Linked DNA regions of Homo sapiens: region 1 is linked to region 2. Evidence: promoter capture Hi-C in 16 types of primary human blood cells and fetal thymus (Javierre and others, 2016). All regions are on one chromosome and are shown on one strand. The core of a region is centred on a gene start or on the middle of the fragment in contact, and the rest is flanking DNA. Distances in the headings are between cores, read along the strand shown.

Evidence for each region. The method cuts DNA at HindIII sites, captures the fragments that hold promoters and counts their contacts. A CHiCAGO score of 5 or more calls a contact.
Region 1: a fragment that was not itself captured here is called in contact with the fragment with the promoter of KIAA0408 in region 2 in 1 of 17 cell types (total CD4 T cells); the score reaches 6.1 in total CD4 T cells.

The regions. Positions count from the first base shown.
Region 1 is chr6:128,322,571-128,328,187 of GRCh38, forward strand. The region is part of intron 2 of PTPRK (protein tyrosine phosphatase receptor type K); the gene reads right to left. Among named protein-coding and RNA genes, the nearest start is that of PTPRK, 200 kb to the right of the region's middle. The HindIII fragment of the contact is 3,214 bases long and covers 2,416-5,617 here.
Region 2 is chr6:127,458,128-127,463,622 of GRCh38, forward strand. KIAA0408 reads right to left here and starts at 1,262. Exons shown (of 6, transcript NM_014702.5): 1 at 1,048-1,262. All of the region lies in intron 7 of SOGA3-KIAA0408 (SOGA3-KIAA0408 readthrough), which reads right to left. It overlaps LOC124901399 (a long non-coding RNA gene), which reads left to right and starts at 5,467. Exons shown (of 2, transcript XR_007059750.1): 1 at 5,467-5,495. The HindIII fragment of the contact is 12,466 bases long and covers 1-5,495 here.

The DNA.
Region 1 (5,617 bases), core at 2,773-5,272, 870 kb after region 2:
AGGAAATTGAGGCACAATTAGTAACACTCAAAGCTGGGTTCAAATCCAGATCTCACTCTAAATCTCTGGTATTACTGAACACAAGTCTTTTAATATAATATATATATATATGTATACACACATACACAAAAGCGATACATTATTGGCCTGGTTTACACAAAGGGTACACCTTTATTTTTCGCTATCCAGAATATTATTGCAGGGAGATGTGCTTAGAGTGCAAACAATGGAACCATTTCTAATTTCGTATTGGAAAATCATCATTTATACAAGTTATGTGATCATTTGTAACATACTAACTTTGAACCTCAGTTCAGGGAATGAGGACACTTTGTAGTGTCAGTATGAGGGCTAAAGTTAAAAATGCCTAGAGCTGAGGATCAGGACACAGCAGATTTCCCCACTTGGAGTCTCACCCACTAAGGTGTCAGCTAATCACCACTGCTACTGGCCCCAGTTCTGTAACAGTCCCTAAACTCTTGTAGAGCTACAAGAAACCCAGTTTAAAATCACCAATCTACTCTATCCCTTTGACTTAGTAAGTGTTCATTGGTTATCTGTCATGAGGAGGCACAGGACATAGAGTCCCACTCTCATAGCTCACATATAGACTTTCCATTGCAGACAAAGGCCACACAGAGACTAAGTACAAAAATGAGACTTGAACAACGGGCTGCTGCTTTTAGTCCCAGAAAACTCTCCAGTAAGACAACCAATTGTTCTCATGTCATTGTGGATTTTAACAAAGACACATATCACAAAAATGCAAATATGCCTATTTATTACACAGAAGATGGAACACAAATTTTATTGTAAAATATCTTTTTTCTTTGCTAGCATGTAATTTTAACCAAAATATATCAGATGTAGTGTTATAAAACTCAGTGTTATAAGAGTTGCACTTGACCCTTTCTTCCTGACAACATGTAAAAGTAATCAATCTTCTGCATTCCCTCCCCAAAATTTGTACCCATGACACATTAACCACTCAATAACTACTAGTCTAACTTGTTCAATTAACCCTCAACAACAGATGCAAATCATGGCAGAGAGGATGGTGTCAACTATTTGAGAAGCCAAATTTCAAATGTGACCGATTGCCACTGAGTGGTAGGTAGCCTCTGGTTGAGAGCTTTTGGGAAGATTTCTGTAACACTTCAGTATAATCGAAGTACAGAATAAACAGATCATAGTGATAGTGGCTGATATTATTGTTCACTTCTTTTTCCTAGTTATCATCTTCTCTTGTAAGCTAGGATTCTTTTTTTTTTCTCTCTTTCTTTCTTTCTGAGTCTCACAGACGGCACATTAATAGAATAAACTGTCCGTGTGTATTTTGGAGAAATTATGTCTTTATTTTTAAAAAGGATATCCTGGATCCCAACCCAATTTATAGAAGCAGGATGTTTCTATTCTTTATTATATTCACATTCTGAAGTCAATGGTTGATTTGGCAAGATGTCTTTCAGATTTGCCACTGCATAGCAGACCAATCATTCCTTTCAACGAGGACCAGCCCTGAGATCTTGGATAAGTTACCTAGTGTTTGTTACTGGGCCTCAGCATCTTCACAAACCTGTAGCCTATTTCTCCACTACTATAACAGTTCCACCCCCTCCCCTCAGTGGAATATTATGGCAGTAGTGCATTTAAATTATTTTTAGAGGTCTGTATCAATTATGGCTTCTGAATGTCAACTTTAAAGTAGTAATCTCTAAATGATTTATTGGCTTTCTAATAGTCATTTTTTCCTATTATAAAATAAACTTTGGAGTAAAAATATGCTTTGTGTCACATTTTAATTATATAGCATAATATTTACTATAAAGACCATTTAGGAATTTTCAGTCAGTTGTACCCTTAAGCTACAATAATTATCTGTCTTATTAGGGAAACCGGATGGGCAAGGTATATTCATTTGTAGGCATTATCAATTTGATCACTAGGAAGACAAAAGTCACAAAATAAAAGCTTGTCTACACTATTTCAACATTTCAAGCAAGTTAAATAATAAAGAAAAATAGTGTTGATAATTCATCTCTATAGAATGTTTCCGCTAAATGGCCCTCTTTCAATAATGCCTGACTACTGCCACATTCTCCGAGTGCTCTGGAATAATAATGCATTTATTGCACAGTTCCAGAAAGGAGGAAGAAAGCACTAGCACCAAAAAGCCATCTAAATCTTTCTGCCTACTGACTTGATATAACGGCAATTTACCCAGTAGGCACTAGGGAGGAAGCTGCCTGTCTGAAACAAAATTCCCTTCCATCATCCCAAACACAGAAGATACTGTGCTATTCTTATCAACATCTAAAAATCACTTCTGTAGTCTCCCAGAATAACTGGCTCCCAATCCTTACACTTGGGAAATTATACAATATGTACTTCTCTCATACTTTATGTTATAATTTAAGCTTATTTACGATTGTTCTGTTACCAGCTAACTAATTCCTCAGATTTCTAACAAGAGTTTAGTTATCTCAAGGCTTAATAAAACATCTATGTTCCCACACATACAATGTACTAGCTTTTAATTAAAACTTCTTTAAAGTGGCCTTACAAATATTCCTTACAGTCTCTTGATCAATAGAGTTCTCAAATATATCATTCAACACAGAGAAAACTATATATGCTTTTTGTTTGTTTTAAGTGCAACCTTTATAGACAGCAATTTGACATAAAAGACCTTTAAGAGATATTCATGAATAAAACATCAAAAGCAATTGCAACAAAACCCAAAATTGACAAATGGGATCTAATTAAACTAAAGAGCTTCTGCACAGCAAAAGAAACTACCATCAGAGTGAACAGGCAAACTACAGAATGGGAAAAAATTTTTACAATCTATCCATTTGACAAGGGAATAATATTCAGAATCTACAAGGAATTTAAACAAATTTACAAGAAAAAAACAAACCCATCAAAAAGTGGGTGAAAGATATGAACAGACACTTTTCAAAAGAAGACATTTATGCGGCCAACAAACATAAAAAAAAAGGTCATCATCACTGGTCATTAGAGAAATGCAAATCAAAACCACAATGAGATACCATCTCACGCCAGTTAGAATGGTGATCATTAAAAAGTCAAGAAAAAACAGATGCTGGAGAGGATGTGGAGAAATAGGATGTTTTTACACTGTTGGTGGGAGTGTAAATTAGTTCAACCATTGTGGAAGACAGTGTGGTGATTCCTCAAGGATCTAAAACTAGAAATACCATTTGACGTGTCAATCCCATTACTATGTATATATCCAAAGGATTATAAATCATTCTGCTACAAAGACACAGGCACACGTATGTTTACTGCAGCACTATTCACAATAGCAAAGACTTGGAACCAACCCAAATGTCCATCAATGGTAGACTGGATAAAGAAAATGTGGCACATAAACACCATGGAATACTGTGCAGCCATAAAAAAGGATGAGTTCATGTCCTTTGCAGGGACATGGATGAAGTTGAAAACCATAATTCTCAGCAAACTATCACAAGAACAGAAAACCAAACACCACATTTTCTCACTCATAAGTGGGAACTGAACAATGAGAACACATGGACACAGAGAGGGGAACACACACCAGGGCCTGTTGGGAGGCAAGGGGAGGGAGAGCATAAGGAGAAATACCTAATGTAGACAACGGGTTGACGAGTGCAGCAAACCACCATGGCACATGTATACTTATGTAACAAACCTGCACATTCTGCATATGTATCTCAGAACTTAAAGTATATTTTAAAAAAAGAGATACATACCTTCTGATCTGGGAATTCCATGTCTACAAATGTATACTAAATAAACCATCAGGTATGTATAAAAGATACAGCTTTAAAAGATGCCTAACTCATTACACTATTTAAAACAGAGAAAAATTAAGTATTCTCAATATTCAATAATCAGTAATTTGCAAAATTACAGCAAATCAATTTAATGAACAATAATGCAGTCATTAAGAATAATATTATTTTAAAACATTTTATGGAAGATATTTACAATATGTTAAGTAAAATATGCAGGTTATAAAATATTAAACCCACTTATGAAAAATACATATTTGTGTTAAATAATTATATCTGTGTAAATGTGTGTATATTCACATATGCACACACATACACTTGTACATATGACTGGAAAAATATGTAGCAAAATCTTAACGGTATATTATCTGGTGGGCTGTAATTGTCTTCTAGGTTTTCAAAAAAGTTTTTGCATATGTACAGTTTCTGAGAGTTCTATAATGAATAGGCATTAGATTTGCACATTTTTATTAAAACAGAGACTACATGAATACTATCTTACAAGAGGAAAATCAAATGAATAATGATAAATAGTAAATAAACACAAGCGTGTTTTTTAAATCTTTTAAAAATAAATTCTATTTGTATTTATAGGATACAAATAGGATCCTATAAATAACTAAATATTTCAAAAAACACAATACAAAAATTGAGTACTTCTTATTCCAATTCATTAAAAAAGAGAAAGGCAGAGAAGACTTAAAACAAATGACAGTTTTTACTAAAAAGAATGGGCAAGGAAAATAACATAATCTAGTATATAGATGAATATGTAATGCCCTATGGATTTTATACATTAATTATTTTTTATCTTTAAGTTACACTTCTATGAATAAGGTATTTACATGGGAAATTGGATCAATAGCAAAGAAAATAATTCATGATAAATAGATTTCCATACTTTCTTCTAAAACTCCTTTATATATGTATGTGTTGGTATACTTTAGTACACTAACATAATATTTGTATTGTCAGTTCTTATTTAAAATCTGTTGAATGTGCCCTATAAACTAAAAGCAAAATTTCAATTTCTTTGCCTAGTATTCACAACTTTCCATGATCTTATCCCAAAGTAACTGGTCATTTTACCTCCCACTTCTCTTCACAAACCACCTTCTCCAGTCTGACAGACCCCTCATTATTTTCTCCACACATCATGCCAGTTTTCTGTCCTCAAACTGTCTCACAGTTTCTAAATGTCTGATTCTGGCCCCCAATTATACATTGCTTTTGTGCCAATTTTAAATGATTTACTGGGATATCTCTTGTCAACCTCAGAAGGGTAATTTTGTTCTCTTAGAAAGCACCTGAATTATTCAGAGTCCAATCAGAAGAGAGAAGCCACACAGTAAATTTAACAGTGAAAATGTAATATAAAGAATTACTACCTATAAGAAGATAGAAACTTTAACGCTGTGAAGAAAACCTTAAAGAACAATCAAAGTACCCAAGAAAGAAACCAATATAGACAGGGGAGGTTGCTGAGAATCAGATTTCCTTAAAGAAGGTGCAGTTGCAGCTCACGGGAAGATAAAGTCTGCTGGGTCACTCAGGCCAGAGCCAATCCTGCTCTAGGGAAGCTAGGGAAACAGGACACATTCTCCCTGCAGCAGAGTGGCATGAGGCCTGGGGTATGTGTGTGCCACAGCAAGGCAGTCACCAGGCCAGGTTTGTTGCTACAAGCTCACTGAGGGACTATGTCTGCTACATGCACACAGCTCCGTCCACTGTGCAGTACCACCAACTAAAAACAAACTTAGGATCACAATTCAACCAAGAATAGATGATCCTTCTTTCTTAAGTGTCTCTCCAGTGCC
Region 2 (5,495 bases), core at 12-2,511:
CTTCTGCTTAACTTTGATGGATTAGGAATTCCCCAGCTTATAACCTATCAGAGTAATGTACCATTTACCTCCTAAATTCTCTATCCCTTTCTCCAGGCTATTATAATCACTTGAATTATTTCAATGAATTAATAAATCTCATTCCTCTCTATTGTTCACTTGCAATTGAATCTTTCCAAAGACCACCATGATTTGATTTTGTTAGAGTAAAAGGGAAATTTTTTTCATTGCTGTGTATTGCTGATTTAGCACATTCCTCATGCTCCAACAAGGTCAAAGAGACACTACCACATGCAATTCCGAATGAATCAACTTTACCGTTTCATTTAATTATCTTCTTCCTTGTTTTCTTTACAGTTATTTACTCAAATTAGAAAACATCCAAGCTGTATGCACACTGATTTTACTTATAAAATGCAAACTTTAAAAGCAAACATTTGGTTTGAGTAAACAAATGTCTAAAACTAACCATCGTGAACAAAAGACATAGTGGTAAGTTTCCCTCCTAAACGTAGATTATTCAATTATGAATGGCATAGACTTCAGCTCAAATTACAGAAACACTAACTCTACAGTGAGTCCACCACCACCTTAGATAAAACTAAAATTTATTTTTCACCGCAATTTTCAAATACCAAGTCTCCAGGATTGTGACCTTTAATTTGCAAATGTTAAAAGTCTTTATATGAATAAAAAAAATCACATTTGAATAAATATACTTAGTGAAAATCAATGATGGGCAAAGTGCTTTTCAAACAACTGAGAAGCAGTGTTGGAAAAACAGTCTCAAAGAGCGGATGGTACTGTCAGTCCACAGTTGGGAAATCCACCCTGAGCAGCTGAACAGCCTTTTTCCTAGGAGTCAGTACAATCTGTTATGCACCCCGCCCACTGTTTTTAAGCCCAGACACAGACAACAGCAGAGACAGATGTTGAAATTACACTCCACTTAAACAGTATCCATAGTTTAAAACATCTCAACAGCAGCCCCTTTGTATCCTGCCATAATTAGTCACTTGCTTGTAAACTTGCCGGAAAGAAACATACCTTTCACACTGGGGAGAAATCCTATGGATGCTCGACCACTGGTCAATTAGCAGTGGAAGAAAGTGGATGGCTAGCTGTCTTAAAGAGAAAAGTCTCAGCTCGGTGAATCTCGATTCTTTACAAGAAAAGGGGATGCAAAATAAGTCCAACCATTCCACAGAGCAGTACTGACAAGTCCCTTTGAAACCTTCACCACTTTTACAAGTCAAAAAGCTGCTCAGCTTAGTGTCACAGCAGCAGCTGAGACTACTGTGACGTCAGTTACTTGGAGGCGGCCTTCAAGCCACCTCTTCCAACCAGAGCTCTGTAACTTTAGAGCAGCTCATGCTCTGGGTAAACAACTCCAGGTCCAGGACATTTTTAGCTTTTATAATGGAGCCCAGTATTTTCAAACTTGCCAAAAGAGCTGGTTGTTAACATCATACAATGACAATGGCCAATTTTAGATTTATTTTATTAGGAAAGTAAACTCATTTTTTTATAGGCAAGAATTATCTCCCTCCTTCCATAATTCTTTCTCCTTCTCAGCTGGTGGCAGGATGTACTCTGCTGCACCTTTAGAAGTTTGCATCTGGATGTGGCAGAACAATATGTGTAGCATAATTATATATATTATGCACTCTCAAAAGATCTGTGAAAGTTATCAAACTTCTATCTTCAAATAAAATAGAAATGGAACATAAAGTCCAACCTCTTAGCTCTCTGTGATTCTGACAGTGTGTTGCTTTTATCTACAGTAGTAGCGATGTCTTTACGTTAGAGAAAATCAGAGCCCATGGGAAAGGATGAGATTTCTTATTGTGGGAGGACAAAACACACACACACACACACCCCAAAAATGAGATACCTATGGGCTTATTTTCCACTAAAGTGTGCTGCAGCCATAGGAAGAGAAAGCAGCCTAAGTGTATGGAAAAGCTCTCTAAATCATGATCAAATCAGCCTGTTCTGAAATGCTAGGAGATCTTGCCTCCCCAGCGACATTTTCAGGTTTATTGTGGCTTTGTACACACATGCATCTGATGATATTTGGTTTAATTTAGTCAAAAAAGTCTCTAGAGCAATTTTTTGCCTAACTTAGCAAATACACAAGTTTAAACAATAAGGTCTTATCTTCAAGTCTGAAGAGCTTCCCTGGTGTGGTCTTTAAAGTAATACATATTCACTCACATTATTTTCACCTGCTTCCAGATAAACATTTCATGAGGAGCTAAAGTTTAGTAATAGTAACCTGCTCACAGTAGGACTTTAATACATGTAGGACAATCAAATGAAACCATACTCTGTGTCTGGAAAGCCTGACATCATAATCTCAACAGCAATAACAACAATAACAGTGATAGTTATAGTAATAATAGTGATTATTCACTGAGGGGCAACCCTCTGCAAGGTTCTGTGCTAAGTACTTTGAACAGACCTTTATCTGAGTTCACCCTCAGAGCAATTCTGTCTCTAGATACTGATAATCTGATCTTACTGATAAAACCCAAGCAAGGCTCATTGTGGTAAAGCATCATGCAAAAGTTCATAGAAATGCACCCATGTGGAGGAAACGGGTTTGAACTGTTTTGTCTGATTGCAAACCATGGAATTTTGTCATAGAGATCTAAGTTTCAATTCTGCTGCCACCACTTATCTGTGTGATCTTGCAGACCCTGATTCTTCCTTAAAGACATAATTATATTTACTTTAAGAGGCCATAAGAATATGAGGGAATATATATAGCGCCAAGCACACAATAAAGGGTAGCTCATGTCTGCCTCCATGCTTATGAGGCTAGGAAGAAGATTCTTTGAGAGAGGGAAAGGGAGGAGGGAGTTGCACAAAAACATCAATACAGAATTGTCTTAACATTGTTTCTGGCCGGGTGTGGTTGCTCACACCTGTAATCCCAGCACTTCTGGAGGCGGAGGCAGGTGGATCACATGGGGTCAGGAGTTCGAGACAAGCCTGGCCAACATGGTGAAACCCTGTGTCTACTAAAAATAAAAAAATTAGCCGGCTGTGGTGGCTCAGGCCTGTAATCCCAGCTACTAGGGAGGCTGAGGCAGGAGAATTGCTTGAACCCGGGAGGCAGAGGTTGTAGTAAGCAGAGATGGCATTCCTGCACTCCAGCCTGGTTGACAGAGCAAGACTCTGTCTCAGAGAAACAAAACAAAAAACATTGTTTCCTTTACCTTTTCTTCTACTCCAAACTTCTTAACTTCTATGTATCACTTGTAAATCAAACTAAGACTATTTTGTAAATCCTATCGAAAATTCAGATAGTATGTGTCTAAGTTACAAGAGATGTTAGGTTGGACTATACTTCCTAAGTGTCACTCAGTAGTACCCATTTCAATCTCTTTTAATGGCTGTCCCAGTGTGATTGTCCCAGGGCAATCACAAATAATTGCCCTATGTTTTAGAAAGAATTATGTCATTCATACCTGATGACATACTAATTTATTTCAATGTATATCAGATTCAAGTGCTTCATCTGCTTCTTGTCATGGTAAAGCTGATCTTAAATTGTACACAGAATCAAATAATAATGAAAATCTTTGACAAAAAGTTTACTCCAAGTTTACCACTTATTCTAGTATTTACCAACTTTTTCTGTTGAAGTTTATATATATATAATTTATATTATATGTTATTTATATAAAATATATAATTTCCAGGCCATATTTCATACCCAAAAGACAGAAAGTAAGTCAATTAGGTGATACGGTGCAAAGTCAAGAAATGTTCAGCACAGCTTTTGATATTTTCCCTTGAAAACTTTTTGTTTTTTAAGAAAACTTTTAAAAGAAAATTTACCACAATTATATACATAAAATGAATGCATTTAAAAGACTGATGCTGGTATACTCAGCCCTACAGTTACATTCAGACATCTTGAACTGCCTGAGGTTTTCAAGCAGGTGTCAGAATGACTGAAAATCTTATGAAAAAAATGCAATTTGTTTTGTAATGCAGTTTTTCTTTAAACCATTTGAACATTTAAATCTTCAAATATGAAATTCACAAATGATTGCCCTATGTTTTAGAAAGAATTACATCATTCATACCTTATGACATACTAATCTTATTTCAATGTATAACAGATATGTAAAGAAATGTACATAATAACACTTAATGGAAAATAAATGTAGAAACACTGCCTGCTGTCAAGAAACAAAAAAGAAAATTCTAAAAAGAAATGGAAAAGATCTATATTAATAATAATATTAAGGCACAATCAAAAACATTTTAAAAAGGGTAAAAGAGAACTAATGCGTGCATAAATGTCACTAGCAGGTGTTTCCAGACTTACAGAATTTTAGAGCCAGAAAGAACTTCTGAAATCATCTAGCTAACCTTCTCATTTTACAGTTGAGGGAAGAGGCCCTGAGAGTAACTCATCTGCTCAAGGTCACAAAGCCACTTAGTGGCCATTCCAAGAATAGAATCCAGGTCTCCTCATTCCTGGTGGAGTGCCTTGAAGTTCAAAATTCCAAGAAGTGCAAGGGAAGAAAATCGAAATAAGAATGCTGGATATGAGAGGAGACTGAGAAGTTGATTTCTGGCTTTGGCAAATTTTAAATTCAGTTTTCTTCTATGTCCAAATGAGAGAGAAGATACTCTATCTTTCAAGTATGACATAAGAATCATATAGCTGAGTATTTATTTATTTATTTTTGAGATGGGAGTCTTGCTCTGTCACCCAGGCTGGAGTGCAGTGGCGCAATCTCAGCTCACTGCAACCTCCGCCTCCCAGGTTCAAGTGATCCTTCTGCCTCAGCCTCCTGAGTAGCTGGAACTACAGGGGCATGCCACCATGCCCGGCTAATTTTTGTATTTTTAGTAGAGACAGGGTGTCACCATATTGGCCAGTCTGGTCTTGAACTCCTGATCTCGTGATCCACCCGCCTCGGCGTCCCAAAGTGCTGGGATTACAGACATGAGCCACTGTGCCCAGCCAGCTGAGTATTTATTACTATCTAAAGAGGCTCGTGTCCTTAGCTAATTGTAAACACTGGGTCAAAATAAAAAGGCAAATGGATTTTATCTTAGCAGTTAAAAAATCTGAAGATAAACATGGCAACATGGCCTTAAGCATGCTAGTGCCAGTACATATTTAATCTATGGTTTTGTTTGCAGAATGATCCTGAAGTGTTACAAAGCAGTTACTCATTTGTTCTCTTTATGGTATGACAACCTGGTTGTTATGAGACTGGAGAGCTTCTGATTTCTTGTTTATAACGTTTTTCCATTGCTTATTCTTTTACCCTTTAAACATATTTAACAATAAAAGGGGTACTGTGTTTCTATTTTCATTGGAAAGAAGATAGAAAAGATTGAAAAAGAGAACAACTTTTAAAAAAACTAAACTTGTTCTTTTTTGTTTGTTTTAGTTTAGTTTTGTTTTTGAGATGGTCTTGTTCTGTTACCCAGGCTGGAGTGCAGTGGTGTGATCATGGCTC